Regions from separate parts of the Homo sapiens genome. Here all the other regions are linked to region 5. The links are contacts of gene promoters, found by promoter capture Hi-C in human tissues and cell types (Jung and others, 2019). All regions are on one chromosome and are shown on one strand. The core of a region is centred on a gene start or on the middle of the fragment in contact, and the rest is flanking DNA. Distances in the headings are between cores, read along the strand shown. Region 1 holds the start of PC (pyruvate carboxylase). Region 2 has its middle 8.8 kb from the start of SYT12. Region 3 holds the start of CD248 (CD248 molecule). Region 4 holds the start of CNIH2 (cornichon family AMPA receptor auxiliary protein 2). Region 5 holds the start of RBM4B (RNA binding motif protein 4B). Region 6 holds the start of C11orf86 (chromosome 11 open reading frame 86).

The links. Contacts are between HindIII fragments. The study calls those that stand out against the background at their distance.
Region 1: a contact is called between the fragment with the promoter of PC here and the fragment with the promoter of RBM4B in region 5, in 4 of the 25 tissues and cell types used here (heart right ventricle, hippocampus, lymphoblastoid cells and 1 more).
Region 2: a contact is called between a fragment that was not itself captured here and the fragment with the promoter of RBM4B in region 5, in 1 of the 25 tissues and cell types used here (mesenchymal stem cells).
Region 3: the fragment with the promoter of CD248 here is called in contact with the fragment with the promoter of RBM4B in region 5 in 1 of the 25 tissues and cell types used here (dorsolateral prefrontal cortex).
Region 4: a contact is called between the fragment with the promoter of CNIH2 here and the fragment with the promoter of RBM4B in region 5, in 1 of the 25 tissues and cell types used here (heart left ventricle).
Region 6: a contact is called between the fragment with the promoter of C11orf86 here and the fragment with the promoter of RBM4B in region 5, in 3 of the 25 tissues and cell types used here (liver, mesendoderm cells and thymus).

The regions. Positions count from the first base shown.
Region 1 is chr11:66,957,036-66,959,735 of GRCh38, forward strand. PC (pyruvate carboxylase) reads right to left here and starts at 1,348. Exons shown (of 23, transcript NM_001040716.2): 1 at 1,287-1,348. RefSeq lists enhancers at 1-142, 1,306-1,355 and silencers at 1,006-1,105, 1,426-1,785. The HindIII fragment of the contact is 6,851 bases long and covers 1-2,295 here.
Region 2 is chr11:67,012,977-67,015,676 of GRCh38, forward strand. It overlaps a transcript of SYT12 not described here. Among named protein-coding and RNA genes, the nearest start is that of SYT12, 8.8 kb to the right of the region's middle. The HindIII fragment of the contact is 3,268 bases long and covers 1-2,700 here.
Region 3 is chr11:66,315,774-66,318,473 of GRCh38, forward strand. It overlaps CD248 (CD248 molecule), which reads right to left and starts at 1,271. Exons shown (of 1, transcript NM_020404.3): 1 at 1-1,271. The coding sequence starts at 1,254. RefSeq lists an enhancer at 20-716 and a silencer at 1,200-1,469. The HindIII fragment of the contact is 8,045 bases long and covers 1-2,700 here.
Region 4 is chr11:66,276,925-66,279,624 of GRCh38, forward strand. It overlaps CNIH2 (cornichon family AMPA receptor auxiliary protein 2), which reads left to right and starts at 1,251. Exons shown (of 6, transcript NM_182553.3): 1 at 1,251-1,613. The coding sequence starts at 1,533. It overlaps RAB1B (RAB1B, member RAS oncogene family), which reads left to right. Exons shown (of 6, transcript NM_030981.3): 6 at 1-568. LOC107984340 (a long non-coding RNA gene) reads right to left here and starts at 1,601. Exons shown (of 2, transcript XR_001748274.1): 1 at 1,571-1,601. RefSeq lists a silencer at 1,027-1,356. The HindIII fragment of the contact is 9,186 bases long and covers 1-2,700 here.
Region 5 is chr11:66,676,573-66,679,272 of GRCh38, forward strand. It overlaps RBM4B (RNA binding motif protein 4B), which reads right to left and starts at 1,315. Exons shown (of 4, transcript NM_031492.4): 1 at 1,192-1,315; 2 at 96-519. The coding sequence starts at 507. RefSeq lists silencers at 928-1,037, 1,238-1,517. The HindIII fragment of the contact is 6,531 bases long and covers 1-2,700 here.
Region 6 is chr11:66,973,898-66,976,597 of GRCh38, forward strand. It overlaps C11orf86 (chromosome 11 open reading frame 86), which reads left to right and starts at 1,407. Exons shown (of 2, transcript NM_001353554.2): 1 at 1,407-1,741; 2 at 2,280-2,700. The coding sequence starts at 1,466. The coding sequence ends at 2,354. RefSeq lists an enhancer at 2,088-2,591. The HindIII fragment of the contact is 14,679 bases long and covers 1-2,700 here.

The DNA.
Region 1 (2,700 bases), core at 98-2,597, 280 kb after region 5:
TTAAGGAGAGCCTGCAGGCAGGAAGCTGTAGCTGCAAGTGAGAGAAATGCTGAGCACATCCACCCCCAGCACAAGTGTTTGCATCACATACAGGGAAAGGGTGCCTTGGGGGAGGCCAGCCAGGGCTGATGGTGGCAGTGGGTACGGGAGCAATAGGGAGGCAGATGGCAGGCACTCTGGAGGTTCTGGTTGTCATCAGCAAGTGTTGGTACTTCTCTGAGCCTGTTTTCTCAGCTGGAGAACGGGTAAGGAGCCCAGGCCTACCTCTTCTCACAAAATAAAGACACAATCTGATTTTTTAGAATTTCAGACGAGGCACGCCTGTAATCTCAGCACTTTGGGAAGCCAGGGCAGGCCGCTCGCTTGAGCGTAGGAGTTCGAGACCAGCCTGGGCAACATGACGGAACCTCGTCTCTACCAAAAAATACAAAAATTAGCTAGGCGTGGTGGCGCCCGCCTGTAGTCCCAGCACTGGGGGACTGTGGCAGGAGGGTCGCTTGAGCCCGGGAGGTCGAGACTGCAGTGAGCCGAGATCGCGCCACTGCACTCCAGCCTGGGTGGGTGACAGCAAGACCCTGTCTAAAAAAGAAAAGAAAACAAAAGAATCTCAAAGTTGCCAGGGACCTAGGGACTTGGCTTCCGACTCTGATGCGCTTTGTAAACTACTAAAAGCTGGAGAAATAAGGGGCTGAGCCCAGCCCCACCTCCTGAATGAGCGGCCTTGGGCGAATCACTGCGTCTGGGCGCCTGGAGCTTCCCCGTCTGAAACAAAGTAGAGGATCCTACGGGAGGCGGAGTGCGAGAGCAAGGAACAAGGAAAGCCCTCGCCTTACACGCCGCGGCTTCCTGCAGAGCTGAGCCACATCCAGTACGATGGGGACAACTTGGGCTCCCGATCCTGACAGACTTGGGTTCGAACCCTCAGGGACCTCGCGCGAGGCGCTTTAGTCAGTTTCTCCATCTGCAAAATGGGCCCGAGAGCAAGAATGAGGCAGCCCGCAGGCGGACGCTGCGGAGGGGCGCTCGGGGGCTGCAGCCGGGGGCGGGTCCGGGGGCGGGTCCAGCCGGCCGAGCCCCCGCGCGAGGGGGAGGGGCGCCGTCCGCTGCGTCGCGTCGCGCACCGCGCACAGCCCGTCGCTGTCTCCTCCAGCCGTCACTCGCGGAGCCCGCGCCGCCTTTGCGCGCGCGACCCTTACATAAGCGTCCCTCGCAGCGGTGCCGGCGCACGTCCACCCGCTCCGACCCGCCGCGGGAAGAGGACCGTGCGGAGCGCGGCGGACACTCACCTCCTCGCCGTCGCCAGTCCTCGCCGCCGCCTCTACCGCTGCTGCCTCCACTGACAGAGAACAGCTGCGGTCTCCGTGCAACCGAACTTGCTGCAGTCCCGGCCCCGCCTTACGGACTTCCTATTGGCCCAGACAGCCCAACCCCTCCCGTTATTGGGCAGTGTTCTCCGTCACTCCTCGCCCCTAGGCTCTGGACTCCTCCCTGTGCCCGCCTGTCCGTCACGTTTAAGCCTTGGCGCCCCACGTCAGCCCCGCCCCTCCCGTCCCCGGCGAGCGCCTGGATAAGTGGCGAGGCTGGGAGAGCCCGCCCCTGGCGCACCACCGCCTACTCCCTTGTCTCCGGAGCCTCACGTGGGCCGCCGGACCCTAGCCGACGCCCGCAATAGGCGGAAGTGGCCGGGCTGTGGCTCGCAGTTATTGGCTGTCGGCGGGGGTGGGGACGTTCGATTCATTCACCCGAGTAGCACGTGTCTCCCGAAGCTGCAAGCACAACAGTTCGCACTGGGGCTCAGGCATCCCGGCTAGACGCAGATACGCGCTGGCTAGCGGAGAAGAGGTCGCAGGAAAAGCTAACGTTAGCGAAGGGCAGGAGGAAGGAGAAGGCGCTTGTGCCACACGGGTTACATGACTATGTCCTTTAACAGCTGCGTAGATGATGATGGGGGTCTACAGTACGTCTGTGTGACCTTGGGCAAGCAACTTAACCTCTGAGTCTCGGTTTTGTCATCTGCAGAGCGAAGCTACTCAGGACCTAGGGGGTTTGGAAGCCTTGTTTGAGACACAAGACACTTGACAAGACCCAAGACACTTGTCAAAGAGGAAAGCTTTGACAAGTGGAACAAGTGACTGAGGCATAAGTCTCTGTCATCGAGGCTTATTAATCCAGTTTGAGGGCGTGCTCGGGAAAAACACGAACCACAGACACATCCGTGGTTGTTTTTCCGAAGAGGTTTTCGGGAGGTTTAGTATTTATGCATTTCCTTAAAGGGGGAATGAGGGGAAGGCATGTAGGAAGAAGGGCAAGTAGGCGATTAGGACAATAGTTACATTCCTATGGGACTTTAGCTAATGCCCGGTAAATCTACGTAAGATGAGATGAATGTCTGAAGAGAAAAAGAGAGTAAAGGAAGAGTCAGTTATGCAGATGTCTCTGAGTAGGTAGTTTTGACTTTGTTCTGCACCTGGGAAAATAAGCTTGTAATGACATTCTTATTGTGGAATTTTTAGGAGCTAGACTTAGATTGTAGACCTGAAGCTACAATTGACCTGTCCTTGTTTATGGGAGGCCAGCAAGAATTTACTTGTGAATGATCTGTGGGGGCAGCCCTTCCCAAATGCCTGAGGTTTTTACCTTTCCGTGTGGATATGGCTGATGCCTAATGCTAGTAACAGCTATTCTTTTGGAAGAGGGTGT
Region 2 (2,700 bases), core at 25-2,524, 340 kb after region 5:
AGGAGGTTGGGAATCTGCCCGTCATTCCTGAGTTCCAGATCTCCAGGAGTGAGTCCCTGTCCTCACAGGTGCAGGCCCCAGAGTCCGGAAGGAAAGTGGGTATAAGTGGCTTGAGCCGGATCAATTCAGTGTAATTGACACGCAGAGTGGGGAGGAGCAGCTCAGCCAGGCAATATGTAGTGTCTCAGGTTGCAAAGGGGTCTTCAGGGACCACCCATAACATAACTTAGTTGGGGCTAGGATCCCTACCAGGCACTTTTATTTACATATCTCCCTTGATGGGGAGCTTGCCCCAACTCGGGGTCATTTTCACTGTGGGGGCCCTGGCCATGCAAGCTCTTGTGTCTGCCGAGCTGATACCTGCCTCCCTGCAGCTTCCTCAGGGTGCTGGTCCTCAGGGCGCTGGTGCTCAGGGCCTGGCAGGGTTGCACCTTCTCCCCTTTCTCCCTGCAGCCCTTCCAGGAACTGAGTGAGCGTCTGGGCCTTTCTCGTCTTCAGCCAGGGCTCCTGCCTCTCTCCTCTTTGTCCCAGCCCCAACCCTGACAGTCAAGGCCTTTAGTCCTTGAGCCCATCCCATTCACCCTTCGAGGCTCCTGGCCCACAAGCCCCCTCCCTGGGCCAGGATCCCACCAGCCAGTTACCTTGTTACTGAATGGATCCTCCCCTGTCTGTGTGTCTTCTCAGGAGGTTACAGGCCCCTGTCAAGTGTGGCCCCCGGCGCAGGGCCTCCCTGCCCTCCACTCAGCTGCAGTCTGCTCAGCGCCCTTAGCACAGGCTGGGGCTAATGCCGTCTGCGTTCCTTTCCTGGGGCTGCCATGACACATTACTGCAAATTTGGCAGCTTACAAAACCAGAAATTAATTCTCTCATAGTTCTGGAGGCCAGAGCCCAGAATCAAGGTGTTGGCAGGGCTGGTTCCCTCCAGACGCTCTCCGGGAGAATCCATCCCAGGCCTCTTTCCCAGCTTCCGGGGGCTGCCAGCAACCCTTGATATTCCTTGGCTGAGGGTTTCATAACTCCAGCCCCTGCCTCCGTCTCCACGTGGCCTTCTTCTCTCTGTGCCTTCATGGCTGAGATGTCCCTGTTTTCTTTCTTATAAGGACACCACCCATCGCATGTAGGACCCACTGTAAATCTAAAGTGATTACAGCTTGAGATCCTTCACTTAATTACATCTGCAAAGACCCTATTTTCAAAAAAGATGACATTCGCAAGTGCTAGGTGTTAGGACTCAGATGTATCTTTTTGGGGGGTCACAAGTCAACTTGCTGCAACCATCCCATCAGCCTAGATGTGTGTAGATGTGTCCGGGATCAGGGAGGGTGTCCCTTCACCTCCACATCCCATGGAAAGTGCTCATTGGAAGGAGTGAAGATCTTGTTAATGAGTTTGATGACTGTGAATCCAAGCAGCACGCCCAGAGCAGATGCCTGGGGTAGCTGAGTATGAGGGCGGGGAACAGGCGAGGACCCACAGATCCAAGGGCTGGCTTCCCTGACGCACCCAGCACCAGCTTCTCTGGAGAGGGTTGGAGAAGCGGCTCCTGCCGGGCTGCCCTCTGCCAGGCACTGAGGCCGGTCTGTGAGCCAGGCAGGGGACCCAGCAACTGGGAGCTTGGGGCCTTGTGGGTGAGACCCAGACTGGACAATAAGGGGCTGAGGGATCACAGTGGAGGTAGGACTGGGGTGGAGGTGGGGGTAGCAGGCAGGCCCCAAGGCTGTTTTGACTGATTTGGAGGCAGCCTTGAGGCATGGCATGGGGGTCTGAGAACCCAGAGGGGCCTAGGTGCCCTGGCTGGCTGTCCGTGGCCCACAAACCTGGCCAGGTTCCCTGTCCTGCCCTCCAGGGCAGCAGGGATCCTCGTGGCCTCCTTACTACCACTCTCGACGCTCCCTGGAGGCTGGTGGCAGTCAGGCTGCCTTGGGTATATGCAGGGTGGCTGGAATGAAGTAAAAAAAAAAAAATTATTTTTCACAGTAAAATATTCCTGCATCACGTAGCTCCCGCCACAAACTACTTAAAAGACAGCTGCTTTCTTTGTCTAGTGCCAAACTTTCTAGATGCAAGTCCGCTGAGCCGGTGTGCACCTTAAATAAACTCCTTCACCCAATTCGGTCTCTCTGGCCCCTTACTTTCCCACAACAATGGGAGATCCCTGCCTTGCATCCAGAGCCGCGGCTCCTTCTTAAGCTTCCCCCAACCAAGGGGATCCCGGTGACAGGTGGAAAGGCAGCGCAGGTGTCTTGTGGAAGTAGAGACCAGTAGTCCCTGGGCAGGGGGTCGCAACAGGAGGGCAGGGCGGCCAAGGCCAATGCTGGGAGAGCAAGTCCCTGCCACCCCTGCTGGCCTCAGCCTGGCCCCATGAGTGCTGGCCTCCAATGCAGGCCCAGCTCCTCAGCATCCTCTCTGCACCCCACAGGCTGCTCTCCAATGATCTGTGCTATGGACAGCTGCTTCCAGGGGCCACATCTTTACCCTGGTGTGGAGGCGGTGGTGGGGGGTTGTGGCATGATGGGAGTCCCAGCTGGGAACAAAGGGAAGGGAAAGGGAAGGGCTTTCTCTCCTCGGGAGAGAAAAGCGCTCAGGACTTGGAGCCAGGACTGGTGGGCTGCACATGGCCAGGCCCAGGGATTTTCGCTGTCCTGGACGTGGATTCCTCCTTAGCAATAAGAGTTAGAAACAGCATCGCCTTCATGGCGT
Region 3 (2,700 bases), core at 21-2,520, 360 kb before region 5:
TCTGTCCTCTGGGAAGCTCGGTCTATAGGCCAGGGCAAAGTCAGGCGGCTGCGTAGGCTCCATCCACAGGATCCCAGGCATCTCCGTCCAGCCACCGTTGAAGGCCTTCCAGGCCTCGTCTTCATCTTCCTCATCCTCCCCGTCATCCAGCAACTCATCTCCGAGGTCCTGGGAAGCCTGGGCACCCATGGCCCCTGCAGGGCTGCAGCTGATGCCATCAGCCTCCAGCTCATGTCCCTCGCTACAATAACACTCGAAGCCACCAACGTAGTTGACACACATCTGCTGGCACACACCGGCAATCTGGCACTCATCTGTGTCCACACAGCGGTGCGGATCATCCTCCGCTGGCCGGAAACCCAGGCGACAGTGGCAGCTGTAGCCTTGTGGCCCACCGGGCTCACACTGCTGCTCGCACGGAGCCTGGGCACAGGGGTCCTCGCAACTGCGCCCGTCTGCTGCCAGCCGGAAGCCCTCAGTGCAGCGGCAGGACACGTGACCATCCACCTCCTCCACACATTCGTGTTCGCAGCCCCCGTTGTCAGGGCTGCAGCCAGTCCCCAGGCACAGGGGCCCAGCCCGTGACCAGCCCACACCTCCCTCAGGCTGCTTCACGCAGAGCAGAGAGGCTCCCCTGCCAGCCTGGCACTGCACAGCGGCCACAGAGCCGAAGGGCAGCCACTCAAACTCTGTGGAGACCAGGTGGAAGGGCGTGGTATACACGGCTGGGCCGGCCTGGCCCGCCTCATCTTGCAGCGCCGGGCAGGCGCCCTCGAAGCCAAACTGGCACAGGTAGCCGTCGACAGCCAGCGTGCACGAGCCCTCCAGCCAGCGGTGCTCGCCACTTGCCTCCAGGGCCACACAGCGCTGGGCCGGGCAGGGGCCTCCAGAGGCTGGCTGGGCCCAGTTGGTGAAAGCCGTGTCCTGGTCCCCTGTGGTCCACGTGAAGCCGCGCAGTGGGCGCTGCAGCTGGCATTGCCGGGCCTGCCGCTGCAGCCCGATCCACAGCAGCCGGCTGGCTGGGCCCGCACCCACCAGGCTGTCCACACGCTGGGCCTCCTCGGGGGTCCGAGGAGTGGCCAGGTCGCCCCCCAGCTCGCGGCAGGCCCGCCAGGCCTCCAGGAAGGTGCGGCGCCGTGGGAAGAGAGCGTAGCAGCTGCTGGGGCCGCAGGCGGCACGGGGCTCAGCAGCCCAGGGGTCCTGGCCCAGTGTGGGCCCTGCGGCCGCCCAGGCCAGCAACAGGCGCAGCAGCATCGCGATGCCCCCGGACTGGTCCGGCCCCGGGCTGGCGGCAGCTCTTGACAGGGGGAGGGCCTGGGGCCTCCTGCGGGCGGGCCGGGGGCGGGCCTGGGGCCGGGCTCAGGCCTTGTAAGGAGTGGGCTGGGGCGGCTGCCAGCTCCCTGCTCCCTCTTCCCCGGGGGCCGCTAGAGCAGGAAGCAGTGGGGTGGGGGGCTCTAAGGTTGGGGGCGGAGGAGGGGAGAAGGCGCAGTTGACGGCTGCCCCAGGCCCCATGGGGCTGAGAGTCAGGGGGTGGGAAAAGCCTGCCTGCCGAGCTCTGTGACCCTCAAGTTGGGGCTCGGGGCTGTGGGGTGAGGTCGCTTCCCAGAGACTCAGAGACCCAAATCTGGACACAGCAGCCCCATCACACCCGGGAGCAGTCTCAGCCCAGCTGCTCGCCATGCACGGGAACACCCTCATGCCCACTCCTTTCTTGCCCCACAGACGCGCGCATGCGCCTCCCCCACCCCCAACCCCATGCAAGAGTGCACTCTCTGCCAAGCTGTTTGTCCCTTCACCTCACCGTGGACCTATGCTGGCTTGCAGATGACTCCCTTGCCACACGTACACACATTCTGACATGCTGAGACCCTAGGTGCACATACAAAAATGGTGTGGCATTCTACATGGCCTGACATATGAAGACCTCCGATTCGGCCTGAATGGAAACAGCTTGGTCACCCAGGCACAGGCATCCTCAGCCTCTCATTTATTTACTGAGCCCCTGCGTCAGCCTCTCCCCCTATACTCAAGCTTTCTGGTTCCAGCTGGGCCAGCGTGTGGGGGTGTTGGGGGAGTGAGGGGGCCAGGGGCTGCCCTCCCCTCACCCCAGCTCAGCCTGGGGCCCTGGGAACCTGGGCTTAGAGGGGGAGGAGGCAGCCCCTAAACAGGAAATGCCTCTCTGGGCTCCTGCGTCAGGAAGGCAGGGTGCGTGGTTTAGGGGGCTGGGTGGGGGCTGGGCTGCACGCAGGATGTGGAAGGCTGTGAGGGGACCCATGCAAGGCCATGTATGGGCATGGGGCACACAGTGACATATATGTGTATATGTGACACAGGCATCACGTGTGTGGAGCCCTCCCTGCCCCCGGGGCCTGCTGTTTCGGCCTGGCCAGGGTCCTCTTCCCGCCCTTCCTGGAGGCCTCTGGAGGCATGTGCACTGAGCCCATCATCCAGGATGGCCTCTGGGGAGCTGGCTGGCGGATTAACCCATGCACACCCGCTGCACTCTTAGCAGAAGTTAGAAACAGTGTGGGGAGGTGGGGGAGAGGTTCCGCCCTTCAGTAAACTGCCCTGATGCAGCTTCCCCCTCTGCCACAGATGGATCGACTTTGTGACTGCAGGGGAGTCACTGGCCCTCTCTGGGTCTCCTTTTTTCTCAGTTGCAACATGAGGGCAATGAGTCCAGGATTTTTAGCTCAGCAG
Region 4 (2,700 bases), core at 1-2,500, 400 kb before region 5:
AGACAGACCCATGCGCTGCCTGCCCACCGTGCCCCTTTGTCCCCATGTCAGGCGGAGGCGGAAGGCCCACCGTGCCAGAGGCTGGGCACCAGCCTTAACCCTCACTCTGCTAGCACCTCCTCCCTTTCCCCAAGGTAGCACATCTGGCTCACTCCCCACTCCGTCTCTGGAGCCCACCAGGGAAGGCCCTCATCCCCTGCCGCTACTTCTCTGGGGAATGTGGGTTCCATCCAGGATTGGGGGCCTCTCTGCTCACCCACTCTGCACCCAGGATCCTAGTCCCCTGCCCTCTGGCACAGCTGCTTCCTGCAAGAAAGCAAGTCTTTGGTCTCCCTGAGAAGCCATGTCCCTCGTGCTGTCTCTTGCCTGTCCCACCTGTGCCCTGCCCTCCAGCTTGTATTTAAGTCCCTGGGCTGCCCCCTTGGGGTGCCCCCCGCTCCCAGGTTCCCCTCTGGTGTCATGTCAGGCATTTTGCAAGGAAAAGCCACTTGGGGAAAGATGGAAAAGGACAAAAAAAATTAATAAATTTCCATTGGCCCTCGGGTGAGCTGAGGGTTTTTGCAAGGAAGTTGTGGTGGCCAAGTGTGGTCTGTGGTCTAAGCCCAGCCTTGGGGTGGGGGGATGGAACTGGAACCCTGGGCTTGGTGGGGTGCACGGGGGTCCTGGCTTGGTTTCTGTGTCCTAAGGCTGCTGGCAAAAGCCCTTGACCCCGTTTCCTGAGGCCAGGAAAGCTGCTTGTGCTTCTGTGGTCTGTCCCCAAGGGCCCAGCACCGTTCTGTCAGGGAAAGAGGCAGGCGGCCATCAGCTCATACCTGGCGTGCCGCCGCCAACTCCCGCGGGGCACACGGCAGAGGTGTGGGGTCGCGCAGCCGCTGAGAGGGCCCCCACTGCACCTGGCCCAACCTCCTTCAGCGCCCCCCAAAACCCCACTGCTCCCATTCAGCCCCTGTCCTGGCGTCATTGTGTGTCCCAGCCAGGTGCTTCTGCCGTCTCCGACAGTGACAAGTGCCTCGCACTTCAGCCTTTGCCCTGAGCGCCCGCCCGAGGGGGCCGAGTGCGGCTGTGCCGGTGGCTGGAGTGCCGAGGGGTGCGGGGTGCCGGGGGCGGCCGCGTCTACGCTGTCCGGAGGGTGAACGGCCGCGGGCTTGTCGGGGCTGGGGGTGGCGCCCGAGCCGGGCGGGCAGACGAGGGGCCCGCGGAGACCCAGCCCCGCCCGAGGCCGCTCGCGCGGCGGCCCCGCCCCCGGCTCCGCCCCGCCGGCTTCGCGGGCTGGAGAGCGAGGGAGCCGCGGGCGAGGGATCGCAGGATGAGCGATCGGGGCCCGGGCAGCCGGCAGCGGACGCGCCCCCCGAGCCCACCGGCCCGCGCCCCGCGCCCCCCACGGCCCCGCGGTCCCGGTCCCGGCCGCATCACCCACGTCCCCCGAGCCCCACGGGCCATGCCCGGCCGGCCCTAAGCGCGGGCCGGGGGGCGTCCCCTTGCGCCCGGGCCCCGCGCTGGCGCCCCCCGGGCCGCCGCCCGGCGCGGGGGCCATGGCGTTCACCTTCGCCGCGTTCTGCTACATGCTCACCCTGGTGCTGTGCGCCTCCCTCATCTTCTTTGTCATCTGGCACGTAAGGCCGGGCTGGGGCTGGGGCTGGGGGCGGGGTGGGGGGCAGGGGCCACGCGGAGCTGGAGGGACCCAGGGCGGGTGGTCTCAGAGCCCAGGGGAAACTTGCTATCCCCCAGCCGTCGGCTTGTCGGCTTCGCCCCCATTAACACCCCCCGTGGTCGGCTTTCTTCCCGGGGCCCCCCTTCCTCCGCCGCCCCCGCCTGTCTGTGTGTATGTCAGTCGGTCTCTGACCCCCTCCTCTGCCCTCGTCCTCTGCTCCCATGCAGCCCGTGAGGTGGGGGGTGGAATTCTGGCATTTTTGTTGCTTTATCTTCTATGTCCCCCCCCACCACCATCCAGCCGCCTCCATTAGTCCGTCGGGCAGTTTGTCTGTCTGCTGCCCCCCCCCCCCCGCCTTTGTGGGTTTTTCCAGCCAGAGTGATGGAGCTGGTTGCTATGGCAACTGCATCTGTTTACAGGACCCACAGATCTCAGAGTCCATTAACCCTTTGCCTTCCCAGCCCCCTCCCTGACCAAGCAGCAGTTGGCTCTCATCAGCCCCCAGAGACCTAGCCCCCACCACCGGCTCACCTTGGGTTTCCCTACCCCTCCTGTTGGGGGCTTCCCAGCCCCCCAGGTTTCCTCTCCATTTTCCAGCTTCCCTCCTCTTCCTGTCCCCCTTCCCCTTTGTCTCTCACATACCCCTTGGTCTGTCCCTCGCCCTGGCCTAGCCTCACACCTGGTTCTTCAAAATGTCCATTCCTCATCCTGCATCCGACCCATCGCTTCCCCCAGGCTCCCTCCTCCTCCCCTCCCGCTCCTCTCCTCCAGGGCCTCCTCTGCCTGGCTCCCGTCCCCTCACTACAGAACTATCAATCAGCCTCCAGCTGGTTGTTGGGGGCCCCTGGCCCCACTTTACTGCCCTCCGTCCCCACCCCCACCCAAACCCCGTGCCTGTTTCTGTAACAGCCTGCCCAGCTCGGCCCTGGCTGGCTCAGCTCAGCATCCTCTGCTCACACCTCCCGCGCACACCTCCCTGATTGTCATTCCCTTTCAGGGGTCCTCTTATCCCTCCCTCAATCCCATTTCCCATAGCCCTTCCCTCCTTC
Region 5 (2,700 bases), core at 65-2,564:
GAAGAGACCACCCAGCAAGTTCTATAGTCTTGTGTTCTTGCCTGTTTTGAGCTAGACCCCACTCGGCGCTACTACCCAGGCCCAGAGCAGTTCACCTTGAAACTCTGTGTTGTCAAGGCCCCTGATGGCCTCCACTGCATCCTCTGCCCGCTCCATGTGTACGAAGGCATAATCTTTCACGATGTCACATTCGATGACCGGACCATACTCCTCAAACTTGGCTCGAAGCTCTTGGTTGGTACAAGTGGGGCTGATGTTACCCACGTGTAACTTGGTTGAAGCTTTGCTCTTATTCTTGCTGGCTTCCACGTTGATGTTCACCCCATGAAGCTTGTAATGGTGCAGGTTGCGTATGGCATCCTCAGCTGCCGTCTTGTCTTCTATGTGCACAAAGCCGTAATTCTTAATGATGTCACATTCCAGCACCTTCCCATACTGCTCGAAGAGTGAGCGAATCTCCTGCTCTGTAGCCTCCCGGGGAAGGTTTCCGATGAACAGCTTCACCATCCTGACAAGAGCCTGGGAGAGAAACACAAGACTTCAAAAGTCAGGGGTGTGGTGGGAAATTTCGGTGCACTGCAGCATTTTCGTCTAATCCTCCAAAGTTCTTGCACCTTCAAGACCCTCGTACAGACATTCATTATTCTTCCTCAATAGAAGAAGGGCGGTTTGTTCTCGAGAAGTGCGAGCTATGCGTGACATGCAAACAGGAGGTCGAGGGTCAGCATGCATAGCCCAGTCTATCATCTCCGTGAAGTGGAGCGCAATGAAATACCAGAATTAGCTGCTTCATGTCTTAAAATGAGGGAAGAGAAAAGCCCAAGCAAAGGCAAGGGGCATCAATCGCAGTGCGCCTGGTAACAAGGTTTTGGAGGGAAATCTGTGTACCTCTCCTGCGCGCACTAGCGCCTTTCAAGATACTCTAAAAAGAAAAAAGTCCCCTTTCCCCCAAACCGGGGACCAACCACCTCGCCCCCAGCGGCCCACCCTCCAGCTTCTTCGCCCCAACAAAGACTCGACCCGACCCCTGCCCCGCCTCCTTCCGGAGACCCGGCCCCGCCTCCTCCCGTTGTCTTCCCAGACCTCCCGCTGCAAAATGAGAAACCCAAATCCGGGCCGTGCAGTCTGCCGGAGGCCCGGCCCGACCCGCCCCCGAGCTCCCCACATCACACACACACGACCCCCTCGCACCTCCGGGTGGCGGCAGCGACGGCGGCTCCCACGTCAGAGAGAACCTTACAAAATGGCGACGGCCGCTCGAGCCTGGACGCGACCGGGCCCTTTCTCGCGCGCCAGCTCACGCACGCGCGAGTGCGCGCTGCTTCCCTCCCCTTCCCCTCGCGGGAGCCGAGTGACCAATCCCGAGGCTGCATACAAATGACCACGCAGCACGGGGGCGGGGCCTGTTGGTGGTGGCGCGGCGCCGCGGAGGTCAGCCCACCCCCAGCCCCAGCCAGCCAGTCACCACCCTGGAAAGGGTCGCCACTGCTGCGTCAGAGGGGCTCTGAACGCAACCACTGCCTAGAAAAGCGGAGGCCTTGGGGAGTCGCTCACCACAATGGGTCCTGCTCTTGGGCCCTTTGAGGGGGGCGGGGAGCTAATGACAGAGGAATCTCCCCGAGGGCCCTAAAAAGGGGCTTTTGTAGCGGGCTGGCCGGCTTCTGTGGCAGCTTGGGGCAACATTTCAAAAATACAGGTGCGCCACATTTTAAGCAAAACTAGTCATTGTTTTGTAGCGCTTTAAACATTATTTTAAAGTTTGTCATTGCAGAGGTGTTATTTATTGCTACGGAAACTGAGAACCAAGGGGCAGAAAGATAACCTGGCAGAACTGGGACAGGCCTAAGAGGCATTGCTACCCAGGCTACGCTTAGTCATGTTTTGTTTGCTCGTGAGTATCCGTGGTCTGATTCTCTCTCACTCATTGTGTGTCCATCACAGTCCTGGTCTGTGGTGAGCACGCCAGAGGAATACTTGGTGGAGAGGCCCAGCGAGGTCCCTAGTTCTGGGTGGGACAGGGTCTCCTCGTACACACCAAGCTGGAAGTCTAGGCAACTGAGTTTCCCGACTGTCTAGCATTCAAAATTCAGCTGTGGTCCAAGGGCACCTCCTGGCGGTAAAAACAAGCTTAGGCGTGCCAGGTGCGGCGGCTCACGCCTATAATCCCAGCACTTTGGGAGGCCAAGGCGGGCGGATCACGAGTTCAGGAGTTCGACACCAGCTTGGCCAACATGGTGAAACCCCGTGTCTACTAAAAATACAAAAAATAGCCCGGCGTGGTGGCGGGCGCCTGTAATCCCAACTACTCGGGAGGCTGAGGCAGGAGAATCGTTGGAACCCGGGAGGCGGAGGTTGCAGTGAGCCGAGATGGCGTCACTGCACTCCAGCCTGGGTGACAGAGCAAGACTCGGTCTCAAAAAAAAAAAAAAAAGAAGTTTAGGCTGATTCCCCACTGTCACCTTCCAGCAAAGAGTAGCCTTTTATGGAGATTGATGGATTGGGTTTATCTCCTAGTAGAGCCCGCCAGGGAGGTTGTCAGCCACCATTCCTCATTTTAGTGGCTCCATAATGGCTTCTCTGATACCATCTGGGACACATTCCCCAGGCTGCCCTCTTCCACCCCAGCTACTTGGATATGTTCTTTACCTGAGTTCTTTTTGTTTCTCAGCCATTTCAGAAGAGGCACTGTCCTTCCAATTT
Region 6 (2,700 bases), core at 157-2,656, 300 kb after region 5:
ATCTACCCGCCTCAGCCTCCCAAAGTGCTAGGATTACAGGCATGAGCCACTGCTCCCAGCCTCAGGTCTTTCTTTATAGCAGCAGGAGAACGGACAAATACAACCACCAACTCACTTTGTTCGAGGGCTTGCTGTGTGCCAAGCCCTGTGGACCACATTTAATACGCACAACAATTACCCAAGTTATTTGTCCCTCTTACGAATGAAGGAGAAAAATGTGCCCAAGGTCACAAGGCTGCAAGGAATGAAGCTACAGTTTACCCAGAGGCAGTTGGTCCTCAGAGCTTGAGTGCTCAAGGATAGTGCTGTGCTGCTGGGACATTAGGGGCAGCGCTGGGCCTGGAAAAAATCCAGGCCTCCTGACTCCTAGCCTGGAGCCGTCCTGTTTCCTTCTGTTTCTTAAAAAAAAAAAAAAAAAAAAAGAAATTCTCCAGTATTGTATAACACATATACCATAAAGTTTACCATTTCAACCATTGTTGTGCAACCAATCTCTGGAACTCTTCATCTTATGAAATCTGAAAATTTACAGCCATTAAATTCTTCATTCCTCCCTCCCCCAGTGCCTGGCAACGGCCATCCTCCTTGCTGTCTTTGTGAATGTGATTGTTCTAGCTTGGAGCCATACTGATGCTTTTTTGAAAAATATATTTCTTTTTGAGACGCAGTCTTGCTCTGTCACCCAGGTTGGGTGCAGTGGCACAATCTCGGCTCACTGCAACCTCCGCCTTCTGGGTTCAAGTGATTCTCCTGCCTCAGCCTCCTGAGTAGCTGGGATTACAGGCGCCCGCCACCATGCCCAGCTAATTTTTTGTATTTTTAGTAGAGACGGGGTTTTACCATGTTGGCAAGGCTGGTCTGGAACTCCTGATCTCAGGCAATCTGCCTGCCTCGGCCTCTCAAAGTGCTAGGATTACAGGCGTGAGCCACCGGGCCTGGCCCAATTCTTAAAAGGCTGTCTCTGTTTGGTTGTTAAGCCATGGTGCTCAGTGTCAATGGATGCCGGGGCCATAGAGATTCAGAGGAGAACAAACTCTTCAGGGATGAGGTAGTCAGGGAAGCTGCCTAGAGGAGAAGGAGGAGAAGGAGGAGGGGGGAGGGAGAGGGGAGGGGAAGGAAGGGGGAGGGGAGGGGAGAAGGAGGGGGGAGGATGGGGGAGGAGGGAGGGGGGAGAGGAGGGGAGGGGGAGGGGAGGGGGAGGGGGGAAGGATAGGTGAAGGAGGGAGTGGCAATTTCCTCCCCTTGGCCTTCACTCCTTGACCCAGAAGGTGGGGAGGCAGTGGTGAGGTGACTCAGGGATGCTTGGCCCTGTGGCCTGCCCTTTGATTTATGAAAGCCACCTTGGCAGCACCAACCTTTGCCCCCAGTGATCTCTTGTCAGATGGGTGGAGGCACTGGGCCACCTCAGAGGGCCAGTGTCTTGCTGAGGGGCCGGAGCAGTCCTGTGCCTGCAGCCTCCGGAGCCATGGGAACAGGGCTGCGAAGTCAGTCCTTGCGAGAGCCCCGACCCTCCTATGGAAAGCTGCAGGAGCCCTGGGGGAGGCCCCAGGAGGGCCAACTCCGCAGGGCGCTAAGCCTCAGACAGGGGCAAGAGAAGTCCAGGTCCCAGGGCCTCGAGAGAGGCACAGAAGGGCCAGATGCCACTGCCCAGGAGCGGGTGCCGGGGAGCCTGGGGGACACAGAGCAGCTGATCCAAGCCCAGCGAAGAGGCAGCCGGTGGTGGCTGAGGCGGTACCAACAGGTATGGCTGTGGGCTGAAGGATGGAGGGTACCACAGCAGGTGGGCAGGGATTCCAGGGCAGGAAAGGTTCAGAGACAGAGCCAGCCCAGGCTGTGTACCAAGATGACAACCGAGCTGCCTGGAGATGAGGGTGCAGAGAGAGACACCCCAGAGCCACGTTTCAGAGGGCCCTGAAGGCATTTGGGATTTATCCCACAGGCACTGGGGAGCCACTGAAGGTTTTAGAGGAGGAGGGTGATATGGTAAGCGCTGTTTTTAGCTGATTGATAGTATGCTGGATGGGGGAATAGAGCAGGAGGCAAGGAGATCAGCCAGTGCAACTTCCTGGGAAGTACACTGTGTGACCCTCTCACCCCAGAGAAAAAGGGGAGATCTGGACCCCTTTGTGGGGGGCTGCAGGCTCCCTCCTCTAAGAGACAGGGTCTCCAATGAGCAGTGCTTCTCTACCTGGGGTCTACCCCCACCTCGTGGCTATGGGTGGAACAACATCTAAGCCCACCACTCAGCCCATGGGACCTCCCCCACCTCTGTCTTCCAGCAGGTAAGAAGAAGGTGGGAGAGCTTTGTCGCCATCTTCCCCAGCGTGACTCTGAGTCAGCCGGCCTCCCCGTAGCCCACACTGGGCACCATCAGCTAAAGATGCTGGAAGCCATCGTGGCCCCCTTGCTGTGCCTGGACCAGCCCACCGTGTCTGCTGACCTACCTCTTCACAGCTCTCTGGACTTTGGCTGGGTGGCCCTAGGAGGCTTCTGCCACCAGCTCACTGGAGTCGCCACGTGGCTGCCACTCTTAGCTCTGGCCCTTCCACTCCAGCACTAGCTCTCTTTGAAGATCCCAGCAGGGTCAAAAAGAAGGGGGCTCAGCTGTCTGCCCTCTGGGCTTGGGTAGGGGCCTTGGACTATGATTCTATGAAGGTTTAGAAGAAGCCTGCCCGGAATGGGGGCTGTGGACGCTCCTGC